Linked DNA regions of Homo sapiens: region 1 is linked to region 2. Evidence: promoter capture Hi-C in 16 types of primary human blood cells and fetal thymus (Javierre and others, 2016). All regions are on one chromosome and are shown on one strand. Each heading gives the region's core, a stretch centred on a gene start or on the middle of the fragment in contact. The rest is flanking DNA. Distances are from core to core; before and after follow the strand shown. Region 1 has its middle 58 kb from the start of DCUN1D5. Region 2 holds the start of MMP1 (matrix metallopeptidase 1).

Evidence for each region. The method cuts DNA at HindIII sites, captures the fragments that hold promoters and counts their contacts. A CHiCAGO score of 5 or more calls a contact.
Region 1: a fragment that was not itself captured here is called in contact with the fragment with the promoter of MMP1 in region 2 in 3 of 17 cell types (endothelial precursors, M1 macrophages and M2 macrophages); the score reaches 9.6 in endothelial precursors.

The regions. Positions count from the first base shown.
Region 1 is chr11:103,031,244-103,037,561 of GRCh38, reverse strand. No RefSeq gene overlaps it. Among named protein-coding and RNA genes, the nearest start is that of DCUN1D5, 58 kb to the left of the region's middle. The HindIII fragment of the contact is 173 bases long and covers 2,208-2,380 here.
Region 2 is chr11:102,796,454-102,802,807 of GRCh38, reverse strand. It overlaps MMP1 (matrix metallopeptidase 1), which reads left to right and starts at 4,648. Exons shown (of 10, transcript NM_002421.4): 1 at 4,648-4,820; 2 at 5,308-5,552; 3 at 5,646-5,794; 4 at 6,019-6,144. The coding sequence starts at 4,716. It also overlaps the pseudogene WTAPP1. The HindIII fragment of the contact is 10,818 bases long and covers 274-6,354 here.

The DNA.
Region 1 (6,318 bases), core at 1,045-3,544, 240 kb before region 2:
GGAAGTATCTTTTCTTCTCACTAAAGATTTTTCTTTAAGCTAGATTATTATTGTCATAGTTAATGAACAGCCTATCACAGTTATTGGTGACAGCCCTGCTTCTTCCTAATAGATTGTGAGACCACAGTTTGATCTTCTTAGTATCTCTAAGGCTTAACATAGTGCCTGACAAATATTTGCTGCTTAATAAGAGTTTATAATTGAAGAATGAATGAATGAACTGACATATGTCTATTAATTAATATGCTTTGAACATGATTATTTAACTAGATACATGGCTCATATAATTTAGCCAACATCCAACTTACATTTTCTTTTTTATTTTCATAAGGATATTTACTAAGATTTTGTCATATTTGTCCTAAATCTCTGGAAGCATTCCCTTGATCTACTGATTTAATAACCATTATAGAAGAAAAGCAGATACACTAATATGACTTGTTTTTAGTGAAATCATCCATACTTACTTTTATTTAACACCTATTTCTTTCCTGGATTATTCCTATACTTTTTATGTAATTACTTTCTCTAAACGTTTGCTTCATGACCTCCTAATTACCATGTGTTCCTCCCCATGGGATGTACATTTGTGCAAGTATCTCTCTTCCATCATCATCTTCTCCTTCTTTGCTTCCCATTTTGCTCCTTTCCCTGCTCAATCAATCTTTTTAAGTTAAACAGTTTATTCAGATGCATTATTGAGAATAGGCTCCTCTTTATCTTTAGTTCTCCTGTTCTTATTCAGTTGCTTTCCTACCTTACTTCTTCCTGTTTTTGTACCAAAGTTGAATAAAAGTATAAGTATGTTGAATAAAATTTTGAGCTCCAAGATTTTATTTTATTAAAAAAAAACACAGAAAGAAACATATTTTCTCTCTACCTAAGCAGCACAAAATCTCTCCAACCAATAAAATTACATTTTACTTAAATTCCATTGACAAATGAGTAGGTCAGTTATCCCCAAATGCAGACCCTTTTCCTTCTAGAGAATTTATTGCAACAGAGATCTCTGTAGGGATCTTTCTGAATAATGATGACTTGTGATATTTTATGTCTTCTGTGTTTCTCAGGAGGCTTAGGAGAACATTCTGTTGTCATTCCAAACTCTATTGTATTTACCATCAGCATTTAATTCTTGAGTCGTAGTTTGGGTTTTGTCACAAGAGAGGGCAGGTTTGTCTTAGGCTGGTTTTCTGGTAGTAGAGTTAAATGAGGCCATTGATCAGCATTTATGTTTAGCTTAAGGAAATGTCATCATCTTGTTTGCTTAAACCATAAACACAATCCTCAGCTATTTCCTGTAAAATTTTGCTAACTAGTAATATCTTCTGTAGTGGAAAATATGTGTCATTCTCTTAAAGGCTGTTAAGAACGGAAGTGTGTCCTTGAAAAATTCATATGTTGAATGACTCCCCCATGTGGCTGTATTGAAGATGACACCTAAGGTTGGAACTCTTATCTCATAGAATTGGTGTCCTTATAATAAGAAGAGGAAGAGACCCAGTGTTCTCTCTCCACCATGTGAGGACAAGGCGACAATGTGGCCATCTGCAAGTTGGAAAGAGAGTCCTCCTCAGAACTGGACCCAACTAACGTCCTGATCTCAGACTTCCAGCCTGCAGACTGTGAAAAAATAAATTTTTGTTGTTTTAAGACACAAAGTCTGTGGCTTTTGTTATGGCAGCTCAAGCTGACTAATTCAATGGCTTAATGGTATCTTCATCTGAAAGTAATTAGTAGCTGCATTTCTTCATATGAATTCATAAACTTTACCATAAGTCTGTCAGTCCAAGGGTACCATTAATAGTATGTCATGTTTTGCTCCACATGCCAGCCTTTCTAATAGTTTATCCAAAATTATAATACCTTTTATATTTGGGGTGCTGCTTTTTCTTTTTCCAGTTAAGAAATGTATGAATTTACACTTAGAAAATTGGCTTACTTCATCTGATGTTTTTCAAAGGACAAGATGTAATCTCTGAGTCTTCAATTAATAGAAAAAAAATGTGTGAATCATAAAATCCAAAAAATAATGTTAAGAGAGTCTTTAATTGCAGCCCTGTGAGTTCTACCTCAACCAGTAACTAAATTAATGGGTGATGTACCACTGTGTCTACTACTACTACTACTACCACTGTGATCAGTCAGTGACCTGATCACTCCACAGATGTGAAGTTCTGTACTTCCCCTCAGATACCTCTGAAGCTTTGTTAAGTTCATTTATCAGTTTTTCCTCCTTGAGTGCAGGATCTGTGAAAGGTATTTGTAAAACAATCAAAGTATCTCAGACTCAACAATGCCTCTAACCTTGGAAAATTAATGTAACCTACTAATTTGTGAATGTTAAAAAGTTAATCTTTTGATATCAGTGTAATAAGCTTTAAAAGATGAATAACACTGTCCTTTTCATAGTTATTATAGTTTTCATTAAGATTAAAATAATATAGGTAAAGGTAATTAATTTAAAATATAATAAATTCACACAAAAGGAGAAGCATGAATAAAAAGACTTAACTATATGGCTATAAACAACATGAAAAGGTAAATGGCAAGTTAGGCCAAATATTGGTGACAGGTAGGACAGACAAAGGGTAATTTAAAACATAAAATACAGACATTGCAACAAATACCTAAATGCAAAAATACTATAAATACAGAAAAAAATTAACTATCATTTATATTTTTTAAATTAATTAATTTATTTTTATTTTCTTATTGTTATTTCTTGAAACAGAGTCTCACTCTGTCACCCAGGCTGGAGTGCGGTGGTGCAATCTGGGTTCACTGCAACCTCCACCTCCTGGGCTCAGGTGATTCTCATGCCTCAGCCTCCAGAGTAGCTGGGACTACAAACACTCATCACCACGCCTGGCTAATTTCTGTATTTTTAGTAGAGATTGGGTTTCACCATGTTGCCGAGGCTGGTCTCAAACTCTTGTCCTCAAATGACCCGCCCACCTCAGCCTCCCAAAGTGCTGGGATTACAGGCATGAACCACCATGCCCAGCCGAGTATCATAACAGCACAAACAAACATAAAATGCCTGTCTACAAATCTAAGAAATGTGTGCTGAAAACCATAGAACACTAACGAGAGACTTAAAAAAAAAAACCTATGTAAATGAAGAGATATTCTGTGTTCATGGATGGGAAGACAATTTTGTTAAGATAAATTTTCTCCCCAGATTGGGTTACAGATGCAATTCAGTTCCACAAAAAAATCTTGGCATGATATTTTTGTAGAAATTTATAAACTGATTGTAAAGTCTATATGAAAAAAGCAAAAATAGTTGAATAGCCAAACAATTTTGAAAAAGAATCAGATTGAAGTATTCTCACTACCTGATGTTGTCTTATTATAAAGTGAGAATAATCAAGGTAATACGGTATTGGTAAAAGGACAGACCCACAGACAAAAAAGGAGAAATAGAGAGTCCAGCAATAGATCTACACACCTATCCTATACCCAATGTATTTTTTACAAAGATGAGAAGGCAATTAAATGGAGAAAAAGTAGTTTGTTTTAACAAGTGGTGATGGAACAACAGAATATTCATATAAACATATGTATATGAATATTAAAAATTTACATACATAACATTACAAATATATTTATATGAATATTGCATATTCATATATTTATATGAATATTCAATTGTGTGTATATATATATACACACACACACACACACACCCCCACACACACACCCACACACACACTCTGACCCATTTCTTGCACCATAGGCAAAAATTAACTGAGAAGGGGCGGGGGGCAGTGGCTCATGCCTGTAATCCCAGCACTTTGGGAGGCCGAGGCGGGTGGATCACGAGGTCAGGAGATCGAGACCATCCTGGCTAACATGGTGAAACCTCGTCTCTACTAAAAAAATACAAAAAAATTAGCTGAGTGTGGTGGCGGTCGCCTGTAGTCCCAGCTACTCCGGAGGCTGAGGCAGGAGAATGGCGTGAACCTGGGAGGCGGAGCTTGCAGTGAGCCAAGATTGCACCACTGCACTCCAGCCTGGGCGACAGAGACTCTGTCTCAAAAAAAAAAAAAAAAAAAAATTAACTGAGGTGGGATTATAGGCCTAAATGTGAAACCTAAAACCATAAAACTTCTAAAAGAAAACATAGGAGAAAAATTTTCTCCTTTAAATAGGCAAATATTTCTTAGATAAGACACAGGAAAGTCAGAATCATAAAAGAAACAACTGATAAATTTGACCTAATAAAAAATTTCCTCTTTGAAAAGATACTCTTGGTAAAGACATGTTTTTTGGAAAGATACTATTAGGAGAATGAAAAGATGAGACACAGACTGGGAAAAATATTTGCAAAACACATATCTGATAAAGAACTGCTACCTAGAATATGTAAAGACACTCACAACTCAATAATAACAAAACAACTTCATTTTTATTTATTTTATTTTAATTAATTAATTTTTTAGAGATAGGTTTGCCCCATGTTACCTAGCCTGATCTTGAATGTCTGGCCTCAAGCTATCCTTCTGCCTCAGCCTCCCAAAGTGTTGGGATTACAGGTGTGAGCCACTGTACCAGGCCAACTTCATTTTTAAAACAGGCAAAAGATTTAAAGAACTATTGTACCAAAGAAGAAATAAGAATGGCAAATAAACACAAGGAAAAATGCTCAACATCATTAGTTAACACAGAAATGCAACTTAACACAGAGTGAGATAACATCACATACTTAGTAGAATGACTAAAATGAAAAAGAAACAAAAAACAAGAAAGAGAAAACAAGCCTGAGAATATCAAGTATGAGCAAGGACGTGAAGCAACTGGAACTCTCATTTTTTTTTTTTTTCTTTTGAGACGGAGTCTCGCTCTGCCGCCCAGGCTGGAGTGCAGTGGCGCAATCTCGGCTCACTGCAAGCTCCGCCTCCCGGGTTCACGCCATTCTCCTGCCTCAGCCTCCCAGGTAGCAGGGACTACAGGCGCCTACCACCACGCCTGGCTAATTTTTTGTATTTTTAGTAAAGACGGGGTTTCACCGTGTTAGCCAAGATGGTCTCGATCTCCTGACCTCGTGATCCGCCCGCCTCGGCCTCCCAAAGCGCTGGGATTACAGGCGTGAGCCACCGCGCCCGGCTGCAACTGGAACTCTTATACATGGTTGGTAGCAATAGAAAATGGTACAGTCACTTTGGAAAAGTTTGGCAGTTTCTTATAAAGTTCAATATATGTTTACCCTGCTTCTAGGGATGTAACCACAAGAAATAAAAACATGTCTACACAAAAACTTGTACGTGAATATTTATGAATACTTATTTTTTTTTACTCACAATCACCCAAAACTAGAAATGATGAAAATGTGCATCAACCAGTGAACAGATAAAGAAACTATGTGATATTTGAGTACAGAAAACACTGCTCAGCAATACATTCAAAGGAAAAAAAAGCTACTAATATATCAATAAATTTTAAGTGCATTATTCTCAGTGAATGAAGCCAGATTCCAAAGGCTACATACTGTATGATTTCATTTATATGACATTTTGGGCAAGGCAAAACCACAGAGAAAGAAAACATCAGTGGTTACTTGGGGGCAAGAGTTGCGGAAGGAGGGAGCATGAGGGAACTTCTGAGGGGTGATGAAACTATTCTACATTTTTACTGAATTTAGTGATGAATATGGTGACGGTTACATGACTGTATGCTTTTGTTAAAATTCATAGAAAAGGGTAAGTTTTACTTTCTCTAAATTGTATCTCACAGTTGATCTTAGCCAAAAGGCTGAGAAACGATTCTAAATTGTATCTCTATTAACCTGAAAAAAAAATTTTTAAGGCAATTGAAAAATTAGGCAAAAATATTTTTAATCTGTAGGACAGATAAAATGTTATTTCATATATAACAACTTTTACAAACTTAGAAGAAGATGAATACAACAATCTCTAAATATCCAAAGGATTTAAACTAATCATTTACAGAAGGAAAAATATAATTATACAATCAACATGGAAATTTAAGCTAACTAATAATAAAATACTGTGAATTAAAACATCATATTGTTTTTACCTATCAAACTGACAAAGATTATAGAAAGAAATAATAACTTATGATTGAGGATCAAAGAAGAGGCCACTCTCACACACTGCTGATGAGAGTATAAACTGATACCTTTTTTTTTGAAAGATAATTTGGCAATGTTTTCAAGACCTTGAAATTTTATAATTATTTTGGAAGGAAATTTTATACCAAATTCTTTAAAATATTAAAATAAATATTAAATTAAAAATATTAGGGCAGTGCTTTAAGAGTACCTACAAGATTTTTCATCATATCTAATTGGTA
Region 2 (6,354 bases), core at 3,399-5,898:
AGCAAGACTCTGCCTCAAAAAGTATAATAATAAAAAAATAAAGAAAGAATTATGGCTGAGGCATAAGTAGTTAAGAGTAATTAAAAAGAACTGGGTAGCAGGCTTAGAGAACATTTCACTTTGTGAAAAACAGAAAAATTCTGAAACAATGGAATATAGTTTGAATTCTGAATCATGGACTAAAAGCTCTGCAGGCCACACACGTGTGTATGTCACAGACTCCAAACAAGCAAGTCATAGTCTGGGCACATGATCAAAATCTCACAGGAAGCTTCCTCACATATTTCAAATCCATCTCAAATTCACATTCACAGATGTAAGAGCTGGGAAAGGACGGTTTTGACAGGGCTGAACTGAGCTATGGTATGAGTAGCACTCATCCCCAGAAAGTCTCTTGGTTTGAATTTCCTTTAAAAGGAGCTATAGCTGCAAAAATCTGTTTCACAAATGTGCTAACTATAAGCATTTTCCACAGTGTTTAATAAACCATGCAGATAAGAAAATATTATTGACAAACAAATTAATAAAATGCTCAAAATAATCTGATACTAAATGCTTGTAGCATGGCATGCAAATCACCAAAAATAAATGTGCTATGCTTCATATAAAATCTCCAGTAAGGCTGAGTGTGGTGGCTCACACCTATAATCCCAACACTCTGGGAGGCCGAGGTGAGAGAACTGCTTGAGGCCAGGAGTTTGAGACTAGCCTGGCCAACATAGTGAGACCTCATCTCTACAAAAAATCTTAAAAATCAGTGGGACATGGTGGTGCACATCTGTAGTTCTAGCTACTTGGGAGTCTGAGGCAGGAAGATTGCTTAAGCCCAAGAGTTTGAGGTCCCTACACTCCAGCCTAAGCGACAGAGGGAGACCTTGTCTCTAAATAAATAAATTAGTTAATTGAATGTCCAGTCAGTTGATATATCCAAATTCTTCCCATGGTAATTTTAAAAACTTTAGTCTTAGGAGAGTAAAAGTCATGGGCATAAGACTTCTTATAAACAACTCAGCCTAATGAGAAATAGACCCTTTATTTAAGTGTCATTTAAGTATCTATTTCTTCATTGATCTATTCATTTATTAACTCATGTAACAATCATTTGCAGACACCTACTATGTTGAGGTAGTATAAACTATAAATTCAACAAGTTTGATAAGGGAAATAAGAGAGATTGAGTGACAGCTTGAAGGGGAGGATTCTTTCAGGCCTGTGGGACCGGGTGGTGGCATGGAGACATTATTGTGGACTTGAGGGAGTTAATGTGACAGTCCTCGTGTCTCCAGACACTTTCTCTCTGTTAGGGAAGCAAGATTTCTATCCCCAGAGTATGTATGTGTTATGTCTGGACTGCAGTGGCACAGAACTGTGTTCAACGAGTGACTACCGCTCTGCTGTGTGCCCTGGGACTTGGGGTTAATTGATCAATCATTTCTACCCAGAAGGTAACCATGAGGACTGACGGAACCAGTGTGTACCAAGTGTCTGTTAAGTGTCTGGTCAATGGTTATCCATAAAGCTACTGCATGGCCATATGTAGGAAGAATACAGACCGTGGGGCAAATTTTTCCCACGTGTAACTCTCACAACAAAATAGCATTAAATACTTAATGTTTCTGGCTAAAGACCATTTCAAGACTTGCAGGACAAAAAAATAGAAAAAATATCTGACACTCAAATGGAGTTACAAAATTAAAACGGCTGAATTCCCCAGCATAAAAAAATATGAAGCAAGATTGAAATTTCAAGACTAAGTTTAATATGGAAAAATACAAATATGTTTGAGGCCTTTCACAGAGCAGCCAGCATGAAGCAACCAAGAAAACCACGGAAATAATCTGGCTGCCTGGAAATAGTCCGGAGTCAGCTGACACAGCCACACGAGAGCCCTCTTATGCTTGTCATAAGGGGTAAAGGAATAATTTCAGAAAATTACATTTAAAAGAGAATTATGGGGGAAGAAGATGCTCCCAGAGGAAACAAATAGTATGGATGTGAAGAGCAAATACAACTTTAACATGTTCTGAACTTCTTGGAAACTATGCTAAGTTTAGGCATTGCTAGGATTTGGTATGATTTAATCCCCAGCTTTCTGTTCTAAATTTTTGTTTTCTTTTTTACTCTCAAATAAATCATATGCTAGCACCAGCTGCAAAGTTACATATGTTGTATTAGACGATCTTCCATGAATACCTAACTGGAAATTCCAAGATTCAGGGCCATGTGAATCTAGGCTGGCTGCTTAACCAAAACTTAATTTAATTTTTTTCGTTTATTTTAGGAAAAAAAATTAACGAAAAGATGTTTCAAGCAACCAGTTTCCAATCCACGTCAGCAACTATGACATTTAATGAAACACTATGAGCATTTAGCATGAGAGCTCTGGACTCAGATGCAGGGAGCTTTGCTAGAGAAGGGAGGAAAAAGCAGGCATGATGTGGCGGGTTGTGGGGGACTCCAAGGCTCTATTTCCAACTTCCATCAGAGAACTTCTGTTTTCACCTGGTTTTCAAATTTGCTTTCCAAAAGGGATTTTGTTTAAGTAAAGGATACAGAGGTTTATAAAAGTTTGAAAACTTCTACATTGCAGGATGTGCAGGCTCTTGCCAGATGGGACAGTGTATGAGACTCTTCCAGGGTGACGTCTTAGGCAATTTCCTGTCCAATCACAGATGGTCACATGCTGCTTTCCTGAGTTAACCTATTAACTCACCCTTGTTTCCCAGGCCTCAGTGGAGCTAGGCTTGTCACGTCTTCACAGTGACTAGATTCCCTCACAGTCGAGTATATCTGCCACTCCTTGACTTTTAAAACATAGTCTATGTTCACCCTCTAATATGAAGAGCCCCTTTCACTATTTTCTTTGTCTGTGCTGGAGTCACTTCAGTGGCAAGTGTTCTTTGGTCTCTGCCGCACCCTCCCTCTGATGCCTCTGAGAAGAGGATTTCCTTTTCGTGAGAATGTCTTCCCATTCTTCTTACCCTCTTGAACTCACATGTTATGCCACTTAGATGAGGAAATTGTAGTTAAATAATTAGAAAGGATATGACTTATCTCAAATCAATCCAAGATATACTGAAGTATTGTTTATGAGTAAGATATCAGTCTTGACGCAGAAAGAAAACAGGAATCCATAAGGGGAGGAAAGTGTTGAAAAGCAAACCTGATACAGTGGGAAAGGTGGGAGACACCATAAGGTGCTGAAGTGATAAAACAGGCCAGTGTTTCTCCACTGTATGTTTTCAATAAATGCTTCCAAGGAAGGAGAGTGGGGCATGAGTAGGGGAGCTACAGAGATAAACCAACTTTTCTTACCAGGAATGCTACAGATAGCACTGGTGACACCGGTCACCAGTACCCAAGACAATTTAATGTGGAACATAAGTACAGGAATACACATCTTTCATTACAGAGCCATGTATTTATTTTAATGGGCAGGAGATGCTAAATAAGATCTTTTGAATGGAGGAATGCATAAATATATGAATGAATGCATACATGAAAGAATAAATAAATGCTGCCTAGCACCAAGGAGCGAAGATAGACTCATATCAAGGGAAACAAGTATGATTAAAAATAAGACCCCAGAGTCACGCTCAGTCTCTTTCCAGCCTTTTCATCATCCGGTACATTCAGACAAGTTTCAGGGAAGGATCCTATTTGTCCCATGATAATGATGGGCAAGGGGTGGGGAGTTATCTCATACTCCGCCTGTGGATGAGGGGTCTTCTCAGGTAAGGCTCTTAAATCCTAGGCCTGAGTAAATTTTTTCAAATTTTATTTTAGACAGGGTCCCTCTCTGTTGCCTAGGCTGGAGTGCAGCGGCACAATCACAGCTCAATGCAGCCTCAACCTCCCAGGCCCAAGTGATCCTCCCACCTCAGCCTCTTCAGTGACTAGGACTACAGGTGCATGACTCCATGCTTGGCTAACTTTAAAAAATGTTTGTTTGTTTGTTTGTTTTTTACAGAGATGGGGTCTCACCATGTTGCCCAGGCTGATCTTGAACTCCTGGGCTCAAGTGATTCCCCTGCCTCGGCCTCCTGAAATTCTGGGATTATAGGCTTGAGCCACCATGCCTGGCTCTGAGTAAAGATTAAGGGAAGCCATGGTGCTATCGCAATAGGGTACCAGGCAGCTTAACAAAGGCAGAAGGGAACCTCAGAGAACCCCGAAGAGCCACCGTAAAGTGAGTGCTGGGGGAGCTGAACTTCAGTCAGTACAGGTGCCGAACAGCCATCAGGTGCGCAGTGTTAGTAATTCCACCCTCTGCCCTGGGAGCAAGGTGTGTGGAGAAACCTGTAGCACTTTATGACCATCAGAACCAGTCTTTTTCAAAAAGACCATGGAGTACTCTTTGACCTGTGTATATAACAAGAACCTTTCTCAAATAGGAAAGAAATGAATTGGAGAAAACCACTGTTTACATGGCAGAGTGTGTCTCCTTCGCACACATCTTGTTTGAAGTTAATCATGACATTGCAACACCAAGTGATTCCAAATAATCTGCTAGGAGTCACCATTTCTAATGATTGCCTAGTCTATTCATAGCTAATCAAGAGGATGTTATAAAGCATGAGTCAGACAGCCTCTGGCTTTCTGGAAGGGCAAGGACTCTATATATACAGAGGGAGCTTCCTAGCTGGGATATTGGAGCAGCAAGAGGCTGGGAAGCCATCACTTACCTTGCACTGAGAAAGAAGACAAAGGCCAGTATGCACAGCTTTCCTCCACTGCTGCTGCTGCTGTTCTGGGGTGTGGTGTCTCACAGCTTCCCAGCGACTCTAGAAACACAAGAGCAAGATGTGGACTTAGTCCAGGTAAATGCTGCATTGCATGTGACAATAATGTAAATTTTTAGTTTGTATTTTTCTGCAGTAATGTAATAGAGTTTTTTAAGGATAGGTTTCTTATAAAGAGATTTTTTTTTTTTTTGCTAGAAACAGCACCCTCCACCCAAAATGTATCTAGCCATGCATACGCTCTCTTTTTCCAGTTGGAGGTGAGAGTGAACTAAAGGAACAACATCCAAACTTGTCTCCACAAATTGTAGACTTGTAACAGTATGCAAATCTTGCTCTACAAAAATTGCTCTACTATGAAGTTCTTACTTCACAATAACTAATAGTAGGGACATTTCTACTCTGAAATTTCATTTCTCACCAAAAATAAGGATAAAAGCAACTGCGAAATCTAAACACAAGGTTTAAAAGCAGTTCTCTGTTTTGGCTAAAACTTAATGCCATCAATTTTTAGAATAATGAGAAAGATTTCCCATGCAGTGTTTCGATAATTTTCTTTTGTCAGAAATACCTGGAAAAATACTACAACCTGAAGAATGATGGGAGGCAAGTTGAAAAGCGGAGAAATAGTGGCCCAGTGGTTGAAAAATTGAAGCAAATGCAGGAATTCTTTGGGCTGAAAGTGACTGGGAAACCAGATGCTGAAACCCTGAAGGTGATGAAGCAGCCCAGATGTGGAGTGCCTGATGTGGCTCAGTTTGTCCTCACTGAGGGGAACCCTCGCTGGGAGCAAACACATCTGACCTACAGGTAGGCAGACTGAGGGCCAGAGTGAGAGAGCTATTTCCCATGACAGTGGTAAGAAGTCATGTCCAATGTGTCTCTATTTTGTTTCATTCTAAGGATTGAAAATTACACGCCAGATTTGCCAAGAGCAGATGTGGACCATGCCATTGAGAAAGCCTTCCAACTCTGGAGTAATGTCACACCTCTGACATTCACCAAGGTCTCTGAGGGTCAAGCAGACATCATGATATCTTTTGTCAGGGGAGGTAAGTTCTTCTTATAGCACCTTAACCTCACCTTGCCCCTAGATCTCGTAGCTTTGCAACTGGAATTGATTGTTTAAGATGAATGTTGATTTTATGGGCTCGAAGAGGGAAACTGCATCACAGTTGATGGAAGTCTGTTGGCCTCTTAACAAAGCTAATGCTTGCCCTTCTGGCTTAGCTTACATAAGAACCACAAGGAATCTTTGTTGAATTGTTTCTTTCAGATCATCGGGACAACTCTCCTTTTGATGGACCTGGAGGAAATCTTGCTCATGCTTTTCAACCAGGCCCAGGTATTGGAGGGGATGCTCATTTTGATGAAGATGAAAGGTGGACCAACAATTTCAGAGGTAAGCCAATCAAATTTGCCTCTCTCAATTCTCCCACCCCTTCATGTTTCATTGTAATATTGGTTGATTTAGTTGAAAGAATGCATTCATAGAAGTATATATTTTTCTATTACCACTCAGAAAATTAGTGATACACTTAGAAAAGTGAAAGAGCGGTCTTTTCTGCTAGCTAACAACATCTTAGCAGTGACAACTAGGCCACTCTAAAAT